Regions from separate parts of the Homo sapiens genome. Here regions 1, 2, 4 and 5 are each linked to region 3. The links are contacts of gene promoters, found by promoter capture Hi-C in human tissues and cell types (Jung and others, 2019). All regions are on one chromosome and are shown on one strand. Each heading gives the region's core, a stretch centred on a gene start or on the middle of the fragment in contact. The rest is flanking DNA. Distances are from core to core; before and after follow the strand shown. Region 1 has its middle 40 kb from the start of ELAC2. Region 2 has its middle 100 kb from the start of PIRT. Region 3 holds the start of ZNF18 (zinc finger protein 18). Region 4 has its middle 22 kb from the start of ELAC2. Region 5 overlaps TMEM220-AS1 (TMEM220 antisense RNA 1).

Evidence for each region. Contacts are between HindIII fragments. The study calls those that stand out against the background at their distance.
Region 1: a contact is called between a fragment that was not itself captured here and the fragment with the promoter of ZNF18 in region 3, in 1 of the 25 tissues and cell types used here (pancreas).
Region 2: a contact is called between a fragment that was not itself captured here and the fragment with the promoter of ZNF18 in region 3, in 1 of the 25 tissues and cell types used here (aorta).
Region 4: a contact is called between a fragment that was not itself captured here and the fragment with the promoter of ZNF18 in region 3, in 1 of the 25 tissues and cell types used here (heart right ventricle).
Region 5: a fragment that was not itself captured here is called in contact with the fragment with the promoter of ZNF18 in region 3 in 1 of the 25 tissues and cell types used here (dorsolateral prefrontal cortex).

The regions. Positions count from the first base shown.
Region 1 is chr17:13,056,084-13,060,217 of GRCh38, forward strand. No RefSeq gene overlaps it. Among named protein-coding and RNA genes, the nearest start is that of ELAC2, 40 kb to the left of the region's middle. The HindIII fragment of the contact is 3,964 bases long and covers 374-4,134 here.
Region 2 is chr17:10,937,501-10,941,623 of GRCh38, forward strand. No RefSeq gene overlaps it. Among named protein-coding and RNA genes, the nearest start is that of PIRT, 100 kb to the left of the region's middle. The HindIII fragment of the contact is 8,978 bases long and covers 1-4,123 here.
Region 3 is chr17:11,995,279-11,999,354 of GRCh38, forward strand. It overlaps ZNF18 (zinc finger protein 18), which reads right to left and starts at 2,197. Exons shown (of 7, transcript NM_001303281.2): 1 at 2,153-2,197. RefSeq lists a silencer at 1,896-2,345 and enhancers at 2,278-3,261, 2,376-2,615, 2,686-2,765. The HindIII fragment of the contact is 7,782 bases long and covers 1-4,076 here.
Region 4 is chr17:13,037,990-13,042,088 of GRCh38, forward strand. No RefSeq gene overlaps it. Among named protein-coding and RNA genes, the nearest start is that of ELAC2, 22 kb to the left of the region's middle. The HindIII fragment of the contact is 3,904 bases long and covers 1-3,777 here.
Region 5 is chr17:10,788,253-10,791,963 of GRCh38, forward strand. All of the region lies in intron 1 of TMEM220-AS1 (TMEM220 antisense RNA 1), which reads left to right. Among named protein-coding and RNA genes, the nearest start is that of TMEM238L, 14 kb to the right of the region's middle. The HindIII fragment of the contact is 7,595 bases long and covers 1-3,711 here.

The DNA.
Region 1 (4,134 bases), core at 1,106-3,605, 1.1 Mb after region 3:
TGTACTAAAAATACAAAAATTAGCCGGGCGTGGTGGCGGGAACCTGTAGTCTCAGCTAGTTGGGAGGCTGAGGCAAGAGAATTGCTTGAACCCAGGAGGCGGAGGTCTCAGTGAGCCGAGATCACGCCACTACACTCCAGCCTGGGTGACAGAACGAGACTCCATCTCAAAAAAAAAAAAAAAAAAAAAAAAGGAACAAATTGTTGACACACAAAACAACATGGATAGGTTTAAAAGGCCTTACACCGAGTACAAGAAGCCAGACTCAAAAGTAACATATTACAGAATTGCATTTATATGACATTAAAAAAAAGACACAACTTTTGGGACAATAAATGGATCAGTGGTGGCCAACGTGACGTGACGGGATACCTGACTATAGATGGATGGCAGGAGGCAGTTTTTAAGGTGATTTAATTATTCTTTATTCCTATTATAGCATTATTCACACAAATCTTTACACATGCTGAAACTCATAGAAGTGTACATATACCAAGAAAGTTACAATTACTGCCTGGTCATTTGAAAAATAAGTATTGAGATGTTTTGTTGTTATTTTAATTAAATCACTTCCATATTTTATTCTAACATTGGCTTAAAACCATGTCCCAAAGATCTACCACGTTTCTGTCATGTTAAATTGCCGCCCTGTTTTCTCGTATCTGAGAATTGTCGGGGTTTTCCATGAAGAATCAAGGAGTTTGGAAGTGTTAGTGGGTTGGTTGATCCTTTGGGGGACCTCTACCAATGGAGCCTAGGAGAGGCGCAAGGACAGGTGTCGAGATGCTTTCTTATCCAAATCAGCTTTTTTTGTTTTGTTTTGTTTTGATAGAGTCTTGTTCTGTTGCCCAGACTGGAGTGCAGTGGGGCGATCTTGGCTCACTGCAGCCTCTGCCTCCCAGGTTCAAGTGATTCTCCTGCTTCAGCCTCCCAGGTAGCTGTGATTACAGGTGCATACCGCCATGCCTGACTAATTTTTGTATTTTTAGTAGAGATGGGGTTTCACCATGTTGGCCAGGCTGGTCTTGAACTCCTGACTTCAGGTGATCTGCCCACCTCAGCCTCCCAAAGTGCTGAGATTACAGGCGTAAGCTACCATGCCTGGCCTAAAGCCAGCCCTTTTCAACCATGCTTCCATTCTAGGAACAAGAACCATGCAAAGGAATGGTTGGGCATGTGTTTGTTTTATGAGAACTTCAGTTACCTCAAGTAATGGGGGCTTATTGAAAATGTACACTAGCATAGAACCCAGGAAAAGCCAGACACGGAGGCCTCAAGAAGAGTAGGAAGCTGCAGATGGGTGTCTTCATCCGTTCTTGCACTGCTATTAAGAAATAACTGACACTGGGTAATTTATAAAGGAAACAAGCTTAATTGGCTCACAGTTCTGCAGGCTGTACAGAAAGCATAGCAGCTTCTGCTTCTGGGGAGGCCTCAGGAAGCTTCCAATCAAAGGGGAAGCCAGGCATCTCACATAGGTAGGAGCAGGAGGAAGACTCGGGGGAGGTGCCACACAAATTTTGTTTGTTTGTTTGTTTTTCAGACAGAGTTTTGCTCTTGTTGCCCAAGCTGGAGTGCAATGGCACGATCTCGGCTCACTGCAATCTCCGCCTTCTGTATTAAAGTGATTCTCCTGCCTCAGCCTCCTGAGTAGCTGGGATTACAGGCACCTGCCACCACGCCCAGCTAATTTTTTGTATTTGTAGTAGAAACGGCGTTTCACCACGTTAGCCAGGCTGGTCTCAAACTCCTGACCTCAGGTGATCTGCCCGCCTTGGCCTCCCAAAATACTGGGATTACAAATCTCATGAGAACTCACTCACTAATCATGAGAATGGCGTCAAGGGGGATGGTACTAAACCATTGATGAGAAGCCACCTCCACGATCCAATCACCTCCCACCAGGCCCCACCTCCAACATTGGGGATTACAATTCCACATGAGATTTGGTTGGGCGGGGACGGAGATCCAAACCATGTCAGTGGGATGAATCCAAGATGGCTCAGTGGACTTCCACAGCTGGAGCTGGTGAATCTTTGCTCTGGGTTCCACCATTCATCATGATTAAGCTGATCTTCTCCTGTCTGCTTCTTCCTGTCTCACTACTAAATGGTTTATTCTTTACCTTAATTCTTCATATCCTTTCTCTATCTCATAGCTTTTCTTCACTAAATTCAGCTAATGGCTACAGCTGTACCTCAGTTCAGCTCTCACTGCTAACTGTGTGTTTCTTGCTGCATAGGAACTGGTCCATTTATGGTTTTGTGCCAGTCCACATCTCAGGTTGCTGGCCAGCTTACAAATGGGGTCCTATTACTAGGTGTGGGAAAAGCCACCTGGCTTTTCGGGCTGCATCTTCATGGGACAGTCTTATCTGGAAGAGGCTGTGGGCTTGGAGGCACCATGGTAACCCCGTGGAGGATAATATTCCACAATTAGCAAACCATATAAAATAGGACATAACAAAATGGCACGTTTTGTTTAAGAAACAGTAAGAGTCAGGCCGGGTGCGGTGGCTCAAGCCTGTAATCCCAACACTTTGGGAGCTGAGGCGGGTGGATCACCTGAGGTCAGAAGTTCCAGACCAGCCTGGCCAGCATGGTGAAACCCAGTCTCTACTGAAAATACAAAACTTAGCTGGGCGTGTTGGCGGGCGCCTGTAATCCCAGCTACTCAGGAGGCTGAGGCAGGAGAATTGCTTGAACCTGGGAGGCAGAGGTTGCAGTGAGCCGAGATGGCCCCACTGTACTCCAGCCTGGGCGACAAGAGCAAAACTCTGTCTAAAAAAAACAAAAAAAAAAAACAGTAAGAGTCAAAGATTGTGAAAAGTCTGCCTCATTTATTTCTTGCTGGTCTTGGGGTGGAGCACAGACAAATGAGGACATAAGCAGTATGATGCGATGGGCCTTAGGTGCCCCTAGATGTGGGCATCTGGGACAACTTCTCTCATGGCGATTCCTGCAGTACCAGAGGATTTCTTAAGTACCTTGAGCTACCCATGGTGGAAGGATTAGTTCTCCCACTGCACTAGCAGCTTGGATAATTTTTCATCCACAAGGTGTGCCGATGCCTGGCTCCTGGGATAGAGAACTAGGCTTGGAGCCATAATGGGAAGCAAATCTCTCCGGATTGGGGCACATGAAGTGATGAAAAGCTTTGACGGTGGGTGAGAAGGAGTGCTGATCCCACAACCGGCGGCATGGCCTCTATTAAAACCAGGCCTCCTGCCCCATCAGACACACAAGTTTCTCTTAACTCTGCCCATCAGGTATGAAAACTTTTAGGAAAATAACATTGACCAAAGCCCAGGGCTGCGACTGGGGAAGTGATCCTTGGTGTGCCGAGACATGAGTCCGTGACATCTGGAATGATCCTTTGGGGACATTTGGGGCTCCAATTAAATATGATTCAGCCTGGGTGGTCAGGCAAACCCTCAGGGACCCATGTGACCGGCCCGAAGTTTTCACCACTCTCCACACAGAACAGTGTTTTCAAAGCAGTTTGAAGCACATTGTACTCCCATTTAAAAAATAACCCCTTGCAGCCGGGCGCGGTGGCTCATGCCTGTAATCCCAGCACTTTGGGAGGCCAAGGCGGGTGGATCATGAGGTCAGGAGTTTAAGACCAGCCTGGCCAAGATGGTGAAACCCATCTTCACTAAAACTACAAAAAATAGCCAGGTGCGATGTCAGGCACCTGTAATCCCAGCTACTCGGGAGGCTGAGGCAGGAGAATCCCTTCAACCCGGGAGGTGGAGGTTGCAGTGAGCCAAGATCACGCCACTGCACTCCAGCCTGGGTGACAGAGTGAGACTCTGTCTCAAAATAAATAAATTAATTAATTAATAAAAAAAAAACCCTTCCATATTTAAACACATTTAAAACTGAAACAACCATAGCCCCACTCCCGAGGGATGACCATTGTTTACATTCTGCTGTATGTCTTTCCAATATTATTATTGTACATATATTTGGAGGTAAAATAGTCTCATACCATCAGTCTGCACAGTTCAATATGGTAGCCACTAGCCACATATAGCTCTTCAAATTAGAATAGAAAAAAAACTAAAATCAAAATTAAAATTCAGTCTCTCATTTGTAGTAGCCACACTTCAGGTGCTCAGAAGTTGTACAT
Region 2 (4,123 bases), core at 1,097-3,596, 1.1 Mb before region 3:
AGAATGTAGTTTGTGTGTGTGTGTGTGTGTGTGTGTGTGTGTGTGTGTGTGTGTGTTTTTGTTTTTTGAGATGGAGTCTCATTCTGTCAACCAGCCTGTAGTGCAGTGGCGCGATCTCAGCTCACTGCAACCTCTGCCTCTCAGGTTCAAGCAATTCTGCCTCAGCCTCCCGAGTAGGTGGGATTACAGGTGCCCACCACCACACCCAGCTAATTTTTGTATTTTTAGTACAGACAGGGTTTCACCATCTTGGCCAGGCTGGTCTTGAACTCCTGACCTCGTGATTCACCCGTCTTGGCCTCCCAAAGTGCTGAGATTACAGGAGTGAGCCACTATGCCCGGCCGTAGTTTTTTTAAAACATAATTTTTATTAATCAAATAATTTGTGGAAATATTATCCTGAGTAAAATATAAAAACATTAGTCATTATTGGCTACCTCCCGATAAACTCAATTCCCTTCTTAGAGGTAAAGACATTGTTTTGAGAAGTAGTTTTATAGACCTTTCTCTATACACTTAAGAACTTAGAACAGTGCCCCCAGTGTAGTAAGCTGTATACAAATTAGCAATTGTTATTTTTCACTGCTGCTTGGATTCCACAGTAGGGATCTACCATAGTTTATTTATACATTACCCTCTATGAATATGCTACTGGGGGAGAGTTTCATTTTCTCCTATTGTAAACAATCCTCTAATGAATGTCCTTGTGTCTGCTTGTTTACACATGTACAAGTGTTTCTCTACGGTAAATGGGGCATTTTGGTATTTACTGTCTGGTATTTACTTGATGGCTATATTGCCATTTAGATATGTTGCCTTCAAAGCGGCAGTGGCCACCCACACAGGGAACTAGTGTTTGTGAGAAGAGAATGAACGTTGTTTGGAATATGTTGGTGTGAATTGTCAGCAGAGCACCTCTTCTTGAAGACCCAGTTGGAGAGAAGGTAGGTTAGAGTTTTAAGACTGGAGATGTGGATTATAGTGGCGACTCTGTAAACTCTCTTAGAAAGTGGGGACAGCGGGGAAGTTGGGTAATCCAAGCAAAACATTGCATGATTGGTTGAGGGAGGGCAAAACTCCTATTATTATGTATAAGGATATGGGATAAAAGCTCTCAGTTAGGATGACCAAACATCCTGTTTTACTGAGACTGAGGGAGCTCTCAGGACATGGGACTGTCAATGCTAAAACTGGATAGTAAGTCCCGGGCAGATGCAGATGAGTTGGCCACCTTACTGTGTGGAGGCTCAATTTCAAAAAGGAGGGACGCTATTTCCTCTAAAACGATAGCAAAGGAGACCCAAAGTAGATGAGTTCCAAGCAGTTAGAAAATGCACAGGTACTGGAGGGAGCAAGGCTCAGCTTCTATGCTAGGGAAAGTTTCTGATGCACAGGATCAGGGCTCAAGGTCTAGTACCATGTGGTGGTTTGGTTATAACCAACAGAAAATGGTTCTGGCTGACTTTGTGGGAGGGAATGTTGAAAGCCTATTAGAGAGTCACAGAAGGAGGAAAAGCTGGAGAGATACCCTTGCAACACTGTAGGTTAGGGAGAAGAAGCCCAGCTACCGTTTTGTGTCAGGGACACCCCAGTCAAAACAGTGGCACACAGACGACCTGGAATTGCCAACACTTTCAGTTCAGTTCAGGGAGGAAGCAGCCAACTGGCCCAGCCCAATACCTGACCAGGAGGGGGTGGGCAACCTGACAGCAGCCCCTCATGATGAATCCAAGAAGTAAGGGGGCTCCTTGGAAAAAATTGGGGTGTTGTGAGGAAGCAGACATTGGTACCAATCAAAAAGGTTAACAAAGTCCCACTATCAATCCCTAAAGACTGGCACTGACTTCCTACACACTCCACATGCCTCGTGTTTATTCATGTCTAGGTATATGTCTGCGCATATATTATGTGCATAGCAGGTGCTCAATACAATCTTGCTGGATATATAAACGAATGGATACTCCTACAGAGGAAAACACACTCCAGTTAGCAGCAAGGAAGATCAGTTCCTGTTCCCTTGCAAACCAGGAGCAACCACAGCCCACGCAAAGCCACAATCTCTGTCTTCACACCAGGGCAGGTCTCACCAGAGGGCATATAAAATGTCCTGAACATGCTGATATAAATCTGCCTCATAGATGTGAGTCACTTTATATAACTGACATCTTCCTAAGCAGTTGTTCTTAAGCTTATTTTTAGGAAAGATAAAATTTCAGATTCGGTAGGAGAGCTTACTGTTCATAGGAATAGCATACAGCAAATCTTTTTCTTTGTTGTATATGACTTCTTTTATAAATCTAGGTTATCTTTATAGATTAGATATTTTTAAAAGCAGAATAAACCCACTGTTGGCCGGCGTGGGGCCGGCGTTAGTTTATTTCAAAAAACCCATTAACTTCTTAGACCCAATTTCATATACACACAGCACCACTGATTGCTGACAAAGTGTTTCTGAGTGGAGGTCCTGGAGGACCACTTTGGAAACTCTCTGAATCCCCTTGGTAATTGGTTTTATCCATCTTTATTCTGACAATTAGTGCGCTGAAGTCCTTAAAATCAGTATGTTCTTGTAATTCCCTTAAATAGGATTTAGGCAATCTATTTGACTTCAGGAACCCTTTTCTTGCAGGGAATGCAAAAGCATGAACTTTATTCTCAATTCAGAGAACAGATCAACAAAATTTAGGTGTAATTTCAAACAGCAATCTGCATGGGCTCTTCACTTTCCAGGCACAGGGCTGGAGACACAGCCTGAGTGCGCATGAAGTCTAGTCTCCTCTGGCCAGTAATTAATTCGCTTCTCTTTTATGTTTGGGGATTTGGTCCTGTTCCTCCTCAAGAAAATTTTGCATTTCCTTATGTACAGTTGGACTATCTAGTGATTCTAGCCTGCGTTCCTCTTGATGACACATATTGACTTTCACCATTTCTCCATTAAGTAGGATTTGTGTCATTTCAGCATTTGTGTTAGCTTTTGTTTCTTGTTATTAGGGATTATGCATGAAAGCAGGAAGAAGTCTCAGTACTAAGATTCTGGGCCTGTCTGGACATTTCCAGTGCTTAGAGTTGAATGCTATAATATATCTAAAGGTGCTTTAAAAAACCAACAGGCCGGGTGCGGTGGCTTACACCTATAATCCCAGCATTTTGGGAGGCCGAGGAGGGTGGATCGTGAGGTCAAGAGATCCAGACCATCCTGGCCAACATGGTGAAACCCTGTCTCTACTAAGAATACAAAAATTAGCTGGGTGTGGTGGTGTGCGCCTGTAATCCCAGCTACTCGGGAGGCTGAGGCAGGAGAATCACTTGAACCCGGGAGGTGGAGTTTACAGTGAGCCGAGATCATGCCACTGCACTCCAGCCTGGGCGAAAGAACGAGACTCCAACTCAAAAAACAAACAAACAAACAAACAATAAAAGGTGAGATTATTGCATGGGATTGCCAAGGAAAAATATCTCCCACTTTGGGGCACAGGTCCAACATAAACCTTTGTCAATACACTTCTGGTGGTTGGATTTGAGGTGTCTCATTACCCACTTATAAGTTGCTGGCCAAGGTGCCTACGAAGTCATCACAATTCTCCATTCAGGCTGGTTTCTGCCTGTCATATGTCACCCCTTAAGCTACAGGGGCCAGGCCTATTTAGCAGAAAGAGGTTTCATTACCAGTAACACTGCTGACGCTTGAGCTCAGAGGTAGCAAGTTCCTCGCCCTGATGCTGCTGCTGTTCCCACCAGAGCCCTTGTCAAACATCATATGACATTCTTGATGAACCCAAATATGGGCTCGCAAACTTCAACTATAGGATGCTCCACTGATTATGGATGGGCTTATGAATTGAAACCTAATTAAAATCCTGGTGAAGATCATGGGGGCTTAGGAAAAGGCTTCCAACATCTGGCAGAAGACAGGGTCTGATGACCTTGGACATTTCTTTGAATTCTAAGGACTATGATTCCATACTAGGTGGGGAGCAACATCACTGTTAGTCCTCCCTTATATTAAAAGGGAACATATATATTTATGTGTAATACATAGCATGCTTTGCCTTAACGTGACATTTTTTTGCAGCTTGTCTCAGTGAAGCTACATAGGGCTCAGGGAGACCTTGCCCAGGTAGGC
Region 3 (4,076 bases), core at 947-3,446:
AATGCCTGTAATCCCAGCTACCAGGGAGGCTGAGTGAGGCAGGAGAATTGCTTGAACCCAAGGGGGCAGAGGTTGCAGTGAGCCGAGATCACACCACTGCAAGAAAAAAAAAAAGAAACCCAGGCCAGGCGCGGTGGGTCACGCCTGCAATCCCAGCACTTTGGAAGCCCTAGGCGGGAGGACCACCTGTGGTCAAGAGTTTGAGACCAGCCTGGCCAACGCAGTAAAACCCCATCTCTACTAAAAATACAAAAATTAGCTGGGCATGGTGGTGCGCACCTGTAATCCCAGCAACTCAGGAGGCTGAGGTAGGAGAACAGCCTGAACCTGGGAGGCGGAAGTTGCAGTGAGTCAAGATCGTACCACTGCACTCCAGCCTGGGCGACAGAGGGAGACTCCATCTCAAAAAAAAAAAAAAAAAGAGTCAGTGAAGTCAAAAAATCTGAACACTATCAACCGACTTGCTCTAATTGACATTTTCAGAACACTAGACCCAAGAACTGCAGAGTATACATTCATTACAAGTGCAAAGAGTATTCATCAAAACAGACCATATGCATAATTTTCAAATGACTGATATCTTAAAATTAGCTCTAAAAATATTACGCAAAGTGGTATTGCTAAAAAGCCATTAAAGCAATACCAAAAAACACTCAAAAACCCAATATCTGATAGAAAAGGAACACAAGAGAAACAAAACCAGAAAGGTCAAATGGAAAACTTTAGAGCTTCCTGGGTTCAAATATATTCTCTGATCATAGTGCAATTAAAGTAGAAATCAATAACAATAACTAGAAAATCCCAATTTATGGAAATTACTAAATAATGCTCTTAACCCATAGTCAAAGAAAAAAATCACAAAGGAAATTAAAATATGTTTTCATACTGAGTGACAATGACAGCATTATCAAACCACCTGAAAAGCAGCTTTAGCTCAGAGGTAAACCTACAGTTTCAAATAACATCTTAAAAAACGAATAAATATATTTTTAAAAATACCTTGCTTTGTAAATCCAACCTATTTGGCTCAAGAGTTTCAAATAACAAGCGGCAAGATTTTAGATAGCAAGATACCGACCTGTAAACTTACTGCAATTTATCTGTTTCCTAAATTAAGATAGCAGTTTAGATAATATTTAAGAGAAATGACATTTTGGAAAAACTACAGATTTTATAAAATACTTAAATCTTTTGTTAGTAATATTATACTCCCAGGTAGTGTGTAAGAAAAATGTCTCGATTATTCAAAATTAAATTACTTTATATAGTATTAAAAATTTAATAGAGTTTATATTCCGATAACCTCATGAGGAACTGCCCCCATTAGTTATGAAAAAAAAATAAGGTTGTCTGTTATACCTGTTATTAAACCTTTAACAAATAGAATGAATTTTTAAAAGTGCATTCTAGGTGTAATATACACAAGTGGTTACATACATGGTTACATATATAAGTAACCATTTGTTAAGCACCTACTACGTATCGGCTCATTATTAAGCTCGGTTCATGTATTTCCAATTCCCACAATTACCCTGGTGTACAGATCAGGAACCTCCGAGGCTCACAAGTGGCAGCCAGATTAACCCAGGAAGCTCTAAAGCCTTTGCTTTGGGGAGAACTGCCAACGTCTGGTGATTTGTTGGGGCGTTTTCTGGTTGTCACAAGCAGCTAGGGGAACTGGCATTTAGTGCTCGAGGCCAGGGCAGCGCTGCTCATTGGATATGTATTCTCCACCATGCGCCCCCCAAATGCCGACTGCACTCTGATGAGAGAGGGAGAGACTCCAGGCATCATCCCATCGGGTTTCCTCTTCCAGAGACTCATTTTCAGCCCTTAGGGGAAGACAGCGGGGAGGAGCCCGTTTTCGGTCCCAGTGCAGAGACCCGGCCGGTCCCGCGGGGCGCAGAGGCGCAGGAATGCAGAGCCGGGACGGGGTTCACACATCCCCCCGCACCCACGGTCCACTCCCAGCCATGGCTGCCCCGGCCCCGCACTCGCCACGTCCCCCGCGCGCTCCCAGACGCATGGGCAAGGGAGCCCGCTGGCCCCTCCGTAGCTCCGGGGTGCCCAGCTGAGTCAGGTGCGGACGCAGATAGCGCAAGGCCTGACCCCGAGCGGCCGGAGGCCGGGACCGCCCCGCAAGCGCGCTCACCTCGGCCCGCGGCGCCGGCTCCGGGCGCACTTCCGGGAGCTGGGTGGCTGCGCGCGCCTCAGGCGGCAGGCGAACGACGTGCGGCACCGGGCGGAGCTAGGGGGCGGGGGCGGAGCTGATACCGAAGCTCCTATTGGCCGTCGGGGACGCCCCGCCTCTCTCTGGCGTTGCAGCCCAGGAGCCTCCACCGACATGGCAGCGAGGTTCCCGAGCCAACGCCATCCTCCGTTCCTTCCGTCACTCACTCACTAATCACTGTTCCTGAGTTCCTTCACTTCTCACCCGTCATTTATTGCGCACCTATTCTGTGCCAGGCACTCGGCCAAGCACTGCGAGGCCTTCAAAGATCATTTCTTTGTCTCTCCCAAACCCTTCCGCCCAGTCCCACCCGCAGAGCTGCAACGCTCTGCCATTATCCCTGATTCTTAACCGCCGCCTTTCTCCTTTCCGTTCTTGCCTCACTGGGCCTCCCTGAGACACTTGATTTGCCCCAACCTTCTTCCTCTGTCTTGGTTCTCCCACTCTCATCAGCTCTGCATCCCCTGGGTCCTCTCCCACTTCTCCCCATTCCGTTGGGGCTAGTCCAATGTGGTGCCATCCTCTTTCCACCTGCGTCTCTCTCTCTTCTCTCTCTCTCTCTCAACAAATGTCATCCCTGACTCTTCCCTTCTCCTTCCCTTTCCCACACGCCAACAATGGCTGAATCCTCTGATTTGACCTCATTGTCTCTCAGACACCTCACCCTCTCTCCCTTCTCACTATCCCTCCCTCGGCTCAGTTCCACACCATTTGTAATGGTCAAGACCTTCTTACCCTTTCCCCAGCGTCCAGTGTTGCCGGTTTCCAGGCCATCCTGTGCTGGGCCACGACATCAACTTGTGATACTAAGTTGCATTAATGGAAGTATCATGTCAAAGTTTGGGTGTTCCACCTTGGGCAACTGGCAAAGAGGAGGGTATTCAAAAAAAGCTGCCATGTTCCCCAATAACCTATGGAAATAAAATAAATAAAAAATAAAAATTTAAAGAAGAGCTGTCATTATCATAACATGTCCTGTACCTGTCATTATCATAACATGTCCTGTACCTGTCATTATCATAACATGTCCTGTACCTGTCATTATCATAACATGTCCTGTACCTGTCATTATCATAACATGTCCTGTACCTGTCATTATCATAACATGTCCTGTACCTGTCCCATGTTTACAAGAATTAAAGATCCTCCTCTGGAGAAATAAAGCTTGATGCGGGGATGGGATTACATCTTCATGTACCTGAAAAGTGACCAGCGGAAAAGGGATTCGACATGTTCTCTTAAGTCCCAGGGTCTGAACAAGATCCTATGTGTGAAACTACTGTTTCAGCCTGACATAGGTGGAAGTTTCTAGTCTTTTTTTTTTTTTTTTTTTTTTTTTGTATTTTTGGTGGAGACGGGGTTTCACCATGTTGGCCAGGCTGGTCTCGAACTCGTGACCTCAAGTGATCCACCCACCTTGGCCTCCCAAAGTGCTGGGATTACAGGCATGAGCCATGGCACCTAGCTGGACGTTTCTAACATTCATGTGATTGATGGCGCTGCTTTGAGTTCCTGAGGACAGCATGGCTAACAATTTACCAGGCACATTTAGAGGGACACCTTCATTGGGTATTGCTTCCAACATCAATGTGCTCTGCTTCTAAGAAAGTCAAGAGATAAGGTGGTTTAGAGGGGAAGATTATAGGAGTTTTATCTTCAATGTGTTCGCTTTTAGCTGATCAACACCCAAGGAAGATAACAGTAATTCAAAACCATTAATTGGGTTCTGACTCCTTTGTGAATCTGATGGAAGGTAAAATTTTTCCCAAGAAAAATGCACATACACATCTACATACAACACTTTGCACTCAAATCCAGGGAGCTAACACAGCCTTGAAACCCATCC
Region 4 (4,099 bases), core at 576-3,075, 1.0 Mb after region 3:
CATGATCTCGGCTCACTGCGACCTCTGCCTCCCAAGTTCAAGCGATACTCCTGCTTCAGCCTCCCGAGTAGCTGGGATTACAGGCGTGTGCCACCACACCAAACTAATTTTTGTATTTTTAGTAGAAACAGGGTTTCACCATGTTGGTCAGGCTGATCTCGAACTCCTGACCTCAGGTGATCCACCCGCCTTGGCCTCCCAAAGTACTAGGATTATAAGCGTGAGCCACTGTGCCTAGCCTACTCTGACTGTTTTTAAAATCCACATTCAAATCTTCACTTTTCCATAAATGCTTCCCAGGTCACTATTGGCTTGTTGATGAAACTGCAGACTCTTCCCTCACCCCCAGTTCACCCTGAGGAGTAGGACGATTGTGCATATGAAGGGTGAAAAGCTTGGATGGATTAGACTGGAGAGGTTGGGAGAGGAGCTCGTAAGACCATCTGCTCCCTTTCAGGTGTCATGTGGCATTGGTTTGAACTCTTTTCAGAATGAAAAGAACAACTTACGGGCTTCAGCAAAAAAGAACAGTTACTAGCTCAATGAAGTGTAAAGGCCAGAGGCAGACATGGTAGGGAATCTTCAGTGATGACTATATCTAGGCACTTGCTATAGTTTGGAAGTTGACCCTCCTAACCTCATATTGAAATTTGATCTCCAGTGTTGGAGATGGGGCCTGGTAAGAGGTGTTTGGGTCATGGGGGCATGTCCCTCATGAATGGCTTGGTGCCATCCTGGTGGTAGTGAGTGAGTTCTTGCTCAACTGGTTCTTTCAAGAGCTGGTTGATAACAAGAGACTGGCACCTCACCCTTCTCTTGGTTCCTCTCTCACCATGTGATTTCTGCACACACTGGATCCCTTTCACCTTTCAGCATAAATGGAAGCAGTCTGAGGCCCTCACCAGAAGCAGATACTGGAAACATTCTTCTTATACAGTCTGCAGAACCATGAGCCAAATAAACCTCTTTATTTTAAAATTACTCAGCCTCAGATATTCCTTTATAGCAACACCAATGTTCAAAAGATATCACCAGGAATTTGTCCCACTCTACCTCTGAGTCCCACGCTCCTCTTTGTCGGTCTAATTCTCAGATGGGCTCTACCCAGGAGGAAGCAGATGGATATTGGAAGCTCCAGGCAGATGGTCCATTATCTTAGTATCCCTGGCAGAAAGGGAAGGTCTTGTTCACAAATGTTCCAATGAAAGTCTTGGGGATGAGGTTCATTAACTTTCATTGGCTAGTTTGGATTGTATGCCCAACTCTGAACAATCCCAGAAGTAGGGGGACTTCTTATTTGCCAAGATGGTTTCCTTGCCCACCTATAGAATGAAGGGAAAGGGCCAGCCCATCCTAACCTTATAGACTGATGGCGAGAAAGAAATGGCCTCCTAAAGCAAAATAGGGATGATATTATCACCAGAAAAAATCATCTCTGGCCATCCAAAAATGACAGATGGTTCTTCATACACTCTTTTGAATCTGATAATTTTAGAAGTCTGCTGTCCTCTTTCTGTATTGGCCTTGGAAATATCTCTTGTCAAAGGACTGGGTCTACCCCTGCCTATCAGACTGTTTCTCCTCTTAATGCTGTTTTAAATTCTGTACTTACAACAAAGGAGTCACGCAGTCACACAGGCTTAATCAAACCTTGACAAAATTTGTCTTTATAGCTCATACTCATTCCAGGCCAGTAACTGGAAAGCCAGTTAACCAGAATATAGGATTGTGTTAGATCATGGTGGGCTGTACCAGATGCCCTTTTCAAGGCCCACACACCCGTTTCCTAGCTCCTAGGAATATCGTTCATAGCTGTGAGGGCTCACAGTCATGGTCATCGTTGAGAATTGTCCATGGCTACAGGGAACTGCTTTACCCTGAGATTACAAAAGCTCAGCCCTCTTACCTCAACTGCGGGCATCTCTGAAGAGTTACTCCAACTGCAGAGCTCCCTGTTGTACTGGCTGAGGCGTCAGCTGCAGCTACATTGTGGGTCAATTTTCCCCTCTGCCTATTCTTGCCTTTCCTCTTTCCTTACTGCTGTCTTTTCCACAGTGAACTTTCTATATGCAACTCATTCCAGAATCTGTTTCCAGGGAACCCAATAAGACATCTGGACTCCTCTCTTTATGGTCAGTCCACTTATTGCCCTACAAGAAATAAGTAAACTTCACCTTTTAAAGTCTCTAATTTGGGGAATAGGTTTTCTGTTGTCCTGGTCTAACCTCTGTCTTAGGTAGGCTCTGGGTGCCTGGGGTTTGGGGCATCTTCTTGGGACAATTTCACCGGAAACAACACACAGATGCAAGCATGCAACTGAATTGGCTGATTTCTTATTAGTTGGATGAATATTTTGCTGAATTTTCAAGTGATAAATGCAGAATAGACTTGGATGGAAGTGAAGTGATCACGCTTAGTGGGAGAGAGAAAAGCAGATTTGTTGTTCTGAGAGCTGTTGTCTCATGGGTGTCTCTGCTCATCACTCAAGGCTCAGTTCAATGTTACCTCTTATAAGAAGCTTTTCCTGCTCGTTAAAGGCACTTGTTGTCTGGCCTTTCTTTTTATGTTTTACATGTTTTTGTCAAGTCTTTGCACACAGACACAAATCATTACAAATACTGTATAATGTCTCCTCCAGAAAGGTGTTTTACAAACTTCTTTTAAGAAAACACATGGAACATAAGATTTATTATAGGAATTAGATCCTATACATCGTAGGAGGAGTTGGGGAATGAAGATCCAGAAAGAGGAGTTGAAGGATCGGAGAAATGTCATCCACCAGCCCTCCTGAAGCACCAGCATAGTGACGTTAAATTAAGCTTACCCTAAAGCTGTCTCCTTGCATATATTTTACATTCAGTCTCCAAGTTGCTCCCTACATAGTGAACTGGAACCTAAGCAGATGTGTAAACAGGTTGTCTCCTATTCTTGTACCAATCACCGAATTTTGGCCAATCACAGGCAGCCAACTGTTCAAACCCTGTTCAAACAAGGCAGAGGCTAAGCTGTAACTAATTTAGCTGCTTCTGTACCTCATTTCCATTTTCTGTACATCGCTTTCCTTTTTCTGTCCATAAATCCTCTCCGATCACACAGCAGCGCTGAGTCTCTGTGAACCTATTCTGGTTGGGGGAGGAAAGGGCTGCCCAATTTGCGAATCATGCTTTGCTCAATTAAACTCTGTCAATTTAATTTGTCTAAAGTTTTTTTTTTTTTAAATTTTAAACAGTGAACATGTCAGACTTTACAGGGCAGTCTTGGAGGCAGGCATGTCTAGCTGCCAGATTTTTAAATGTTTTTACCACAGTCCACAGTAAGAAACATCTTTTATATCAAGATCCGGAAGGAAGACACACAAACACATATATGAACAGTTGAGAACAAAACTTCCACAAAATAACACTAATTCCTACCTTGTCCAACTGAGGTATTATCATAAAATATGTTTTCTCTTTGTTACTGATTCTTGACACAGAACTCCTAAAACCCTTGGAATTTCCTGAGCTATAGGAGTGTCTTTTGTATGCTAACAAGATGACTCGTAGGGTGAAGTATAAGATAGCTTTAGAATAGGGGCTAGTTGTACAATTAAAGAGTTGGACTTTTCAGCTGCAATCCCCAACCTCCAAGAGAGCAGAGAAGGGCTAGAGATTGAGATCAATCACTAATGACCAGTGATTTAATCAGTTATGCCCACATAATGAAACCGCTCTATGAAACACAGAACTACAAGGTTTAGGGGAGTTCTCTGGTTGGTGAACCCATCTATGTACTGGGAGGGTGATGTACCCCAGCTCTACAGGGACAGAGGCTTCTGAGCCCTGGGTCCTTCCTGACCTGACCTTCTATCCTTCATCTGGCTCTTCATTGGTCTCCCTGATAATAAACTGGAATAGTAAGTGTAGCATTTTCCTGAGTTCTGTGACTCATTCTAGCAAATAATCATGATCCTGGTGGGCTGAGGGAGGTCACCAAATGCCAGTGGGACCTCAACTCCAGCCGCTGTCTAGATTCTTGACACTATTATGAGAAGGAATTCAAGGATGAGTTGGAAAATAGTGAAAGTATGGAGATTTATTGCAAAGCAAAAAGGACACAC
Region 5 (3,711 bases), core at 728-3,227, 1.2 Mb before region 3:
AACTATAAAGGAGGGTTTTGATATTGACTAGATTTGGAAATGACACAGCACCAGAGGCAGCCCAGTCTAGAGCTGCCCTAGGCTGGCGGGACCAATGGCACAGCGAGAGCCATGGAGGGAAAGGCAGATATCACAGCCATTTGTCCCCAGGTGTGACTCAGGAAGTTTTTAGGCCAGCAGCAAGAGGTGTTATTTGAGAGCCACATTAGAAGAATCCCCATCTCTCTCCTGAGCCACTATGACCAGCAGAAATTTGAAAACGAGAAAACCCAGCCTCAAGGGGAGTAGGATGCTTGCTTAAAGAAATACAATTGTTTTGCCCAGTGGTTCTCAGACCATAGCTGTCATCAGAATCACTGGGAAGCCTTTTTTTTTTTTTTTTTTGTGAGGCGGAGTCTCGCTCCGTCACCAGGCTATAGTGCAGTGGTGTGATTTCGGCTCACTGCAACCTCTGTCTCCCAGGTTCAAGCGATTCTCCTGCCTCAGCCTCCTGAGTAGCTGGGATTACAGGCGTGCGCCACCACGCCCGGCTAATGTTTTGTATTTTTAGTAGAGATAGGGTTTCATCGTGTTAGCCAGGATGGTCTCCATCTCCTGACTTCGTGATCTGCCCGCCTCGGCCTCCCAAAGTGCTGGGATTACAGGCGTGAGCCACTGTGCCTGGCCGGGGAGACTTTTTAAACTGCAGACACAGAGGGACCCAATCCCAGAGTTTCTGATTAAGTAGGTCTGCGGTGAGACTGACAATCTGTATGTCTTACAAGGTTCCAGGGGCTGCTGCCGCGGCTGGTCCACTGGAACCACACTTTGAGAAACCTTTTCCCATTTCTCACTTTCTCTCTTCCATGGCTTTGCCACTGCTGTTCTCCATCCCAGCCTTCTTTTAATCCTCCTTCCATCAACGTCATTCCCTCAATACCTTTCACCCTTCCCCCACCCCACCGAGACCCCTCTCCTTCCTTTTCCCTCCTTTTTTGTACACCAGGCCCAGCAAGCTCCCCCATCCCACATGACTTTTTCCCCAAACAAAGGGAAACTCGATTTCCTTGAAAATTGAAATGTGAAAGAGATGGGAGGAAAAATGAGTGCACCCCCCTAGTTGGTGAGGACACCTGTTGCAGGTGACTTAAGACGGTATCAGCTGGACAGGACTTGAGGTTCTTCACAGCTGACAGAGCTGCTTGGGGCTGGTGCAGTCTGGGAGGACTCCAAATGACATGGTTTGTTTTCCTGTGCCCAGAGAGAAGATGGACAAGAGGGGTTCACCCAGAGGGCAGCCCTCAGGCAGGCACAAGTTCAGCATCAAAAACCCTTTAAGGTGAAGTTATAAGACTTGAGCGGGCATCAGAATCCCCTGGAGGGCTTGTTGAATACCCATTGCTGACCCCTACCCCCGTTGCTGCTCCGTTAGCAGGTCTAGGATACAGTTAGTATGACCAGCCAGCCTGGTTTGCCCAGGACTGATCAGGGTTCTCAAGATGTGGAATTTTCAATACTGAAACCAAGAAAGTCCTGGGGAAACTGGGATGAGTTTGTTACTCGACGGAGTGCTGAAGTCTTTGCATTTCTAACAAGCTCCTAGGGGAGGCTGAGGCTGCTGGTCCAGGGACTGCACTTTGAGAATCACTGCTCTATTGTTCCCAGGGAGCTACAGAGGTCTGGTGTTGGGTGTTGTAGCCCTGGACTCTTCTTCAGAGTGAGAGGTCCTGGGCAGGGGTCAGAGTTCAGATTCTGAATAGCTGCAGCCAGGGAGGTAGATGTGAACTTGGGAAGGGAGGGTCACAGAGCCCCAGATTGATGCGGAGTGGAAGGGATTAGTCAGAAAGATGGGGTCAAGGGGTGAGAGGACATCCAAGCTGAGTCTGTGTGTGTTGGGTATATGCCCAACACAGAAAAAAGCTTTGATGGAGGGCCTCTGTCCTTTTCACTGTGGGATAAGCCTGTGGCTTTGGCTGGAAGTGAACTGGGTGAAATAGGTAAGAGCTGTTCTCGAGGGCTGGGGCTGGTGCAGGCACAGCTAGTTTGAAGAAAGAAAAACAAGAAAGGAAAGAAAAGAAATAGATAATAGTAAACTGGGTGCCGAAACTTGGAAAGCAGAGGCAGGCCAAATTCGGCATTTAAGGTGTTAACTTATAAAATAGTGTGTAGAAATGGCATGCAAATTATTTGCATGCTGACTTGGGGGGGTTTGGGTACACACAGACCAGTGCAGTATGGGGTATGGCAGAGATGTCTGATGGCAGGGTGGCTCCAGTGGGAATCTGTACCTTACTTCTCCCTTCCTTTTCTAAAAGTTACCAGTGTCAAATGCTAAGGAACCTTCCAAGTTCCGGTTGAGGCAGTCTTTGGGACCCAGGCTGGAATGAGGCCCAAGGTGACCATCTGTTGAATAAAGGAACACACGTAAGCCTGCAACCATGTGGCTACTGTAAAGTCACAGGCACTTGCTTCTGGCCATTCCCTTTGTTTAGTCCTTGGATCTGTGCATAGCACTGGCTCACACAGCAAAGCTGTGGTATTCCCAGATTCATATTCAGCTTCTGGTATTCTGAGCCTTTCTTCCCAATACCCCTGACAAGAAATGGCTTTTTTGTTATCCTTGTTTTCCTGGCTAGCGCCTATTCCCCTTGTGTGCCTGCCCTGCCAAGAAACTTCTGGGAGTCTTGGAAGAACTGATTCAGCTCTTAAACAAGTTCAGTCAGCTATTAGTTGGCATCTATTGTTTTATTTTTCTGCCAGATTATTACTCTGTCTACCAGGAACAAACACAAGTGTATGCTGGATGCCTTCAAGTGCTGAGATGTATATCCCAGTATCATAGAGAGTATGTTTCCCCCGCAATTCTATTCCTTTTTGCAACCCTTTTTCTCTGAGAACAAACACAGATGGAAGGTAAAGGAAGCTGAACATATCCGTGTGAAGTTTCTGCTACTAGGCCAAGCCTGTTTGCCTGACTCCCTGTACCCTTAGGGTTTGTTTTTACCCAGGAGGCTCTCCGATCCTTTATGCAAATACATTTCTGAGCCTGCCTCAACGGTGGCGGTCAGCTTGTGATCCAGCCAGGATAAGCTCCCCTTCCTCAATTGTACTGTAATTTCACTGAGAGATGAGTTCAATCTGAGGGGCTTCGAGGCTACTGATTGGGGGGTGGGCTGACCTTCCACCTAGTATGACCGCCTTCCCCTGGTTTTGTGGGTCCTGTTGGTCATCTCTGCAATAAGCCATGGGGATGAGGTTGTGAGAAATGTGGACTTGATCATTATGGCAAACCTTACCTTAAATAGCTTTGAAAACAACAGGTTTATAGCCCTAGAATCAGGAGGTGATGGCCTAAGATTTACAGCTCTACATTTTGATTTTTTTTTTTTTTTGAGACGGAGTTTTGCTGTAGGAGTGCAATGATGCGATCTTGGCTCACCACAACCTCTGCCTCCCGGGTTCAAGCGATTCTCCTGCCTCAACCTCCGGAGTAGCTGGGATTACAGGAATGCACCACTATACCGGGCTAATTTTGTATTTTTAGTAGAGAAGGGGCTTCTCCACGTTGGTCAGGCTGGTCTCGAACTCCCGACCTCAGGTGATCCACCTGCCTCAGCCTCCCAAAGTGCTGGGATTACAGACATGAGGCATGATACCTTCTAAGGTATTTGCCAATTCAGGAGGCTGCAGAAGTCCTGAAGACTGGTGCTGGATCACTTGTGATTGTGATGT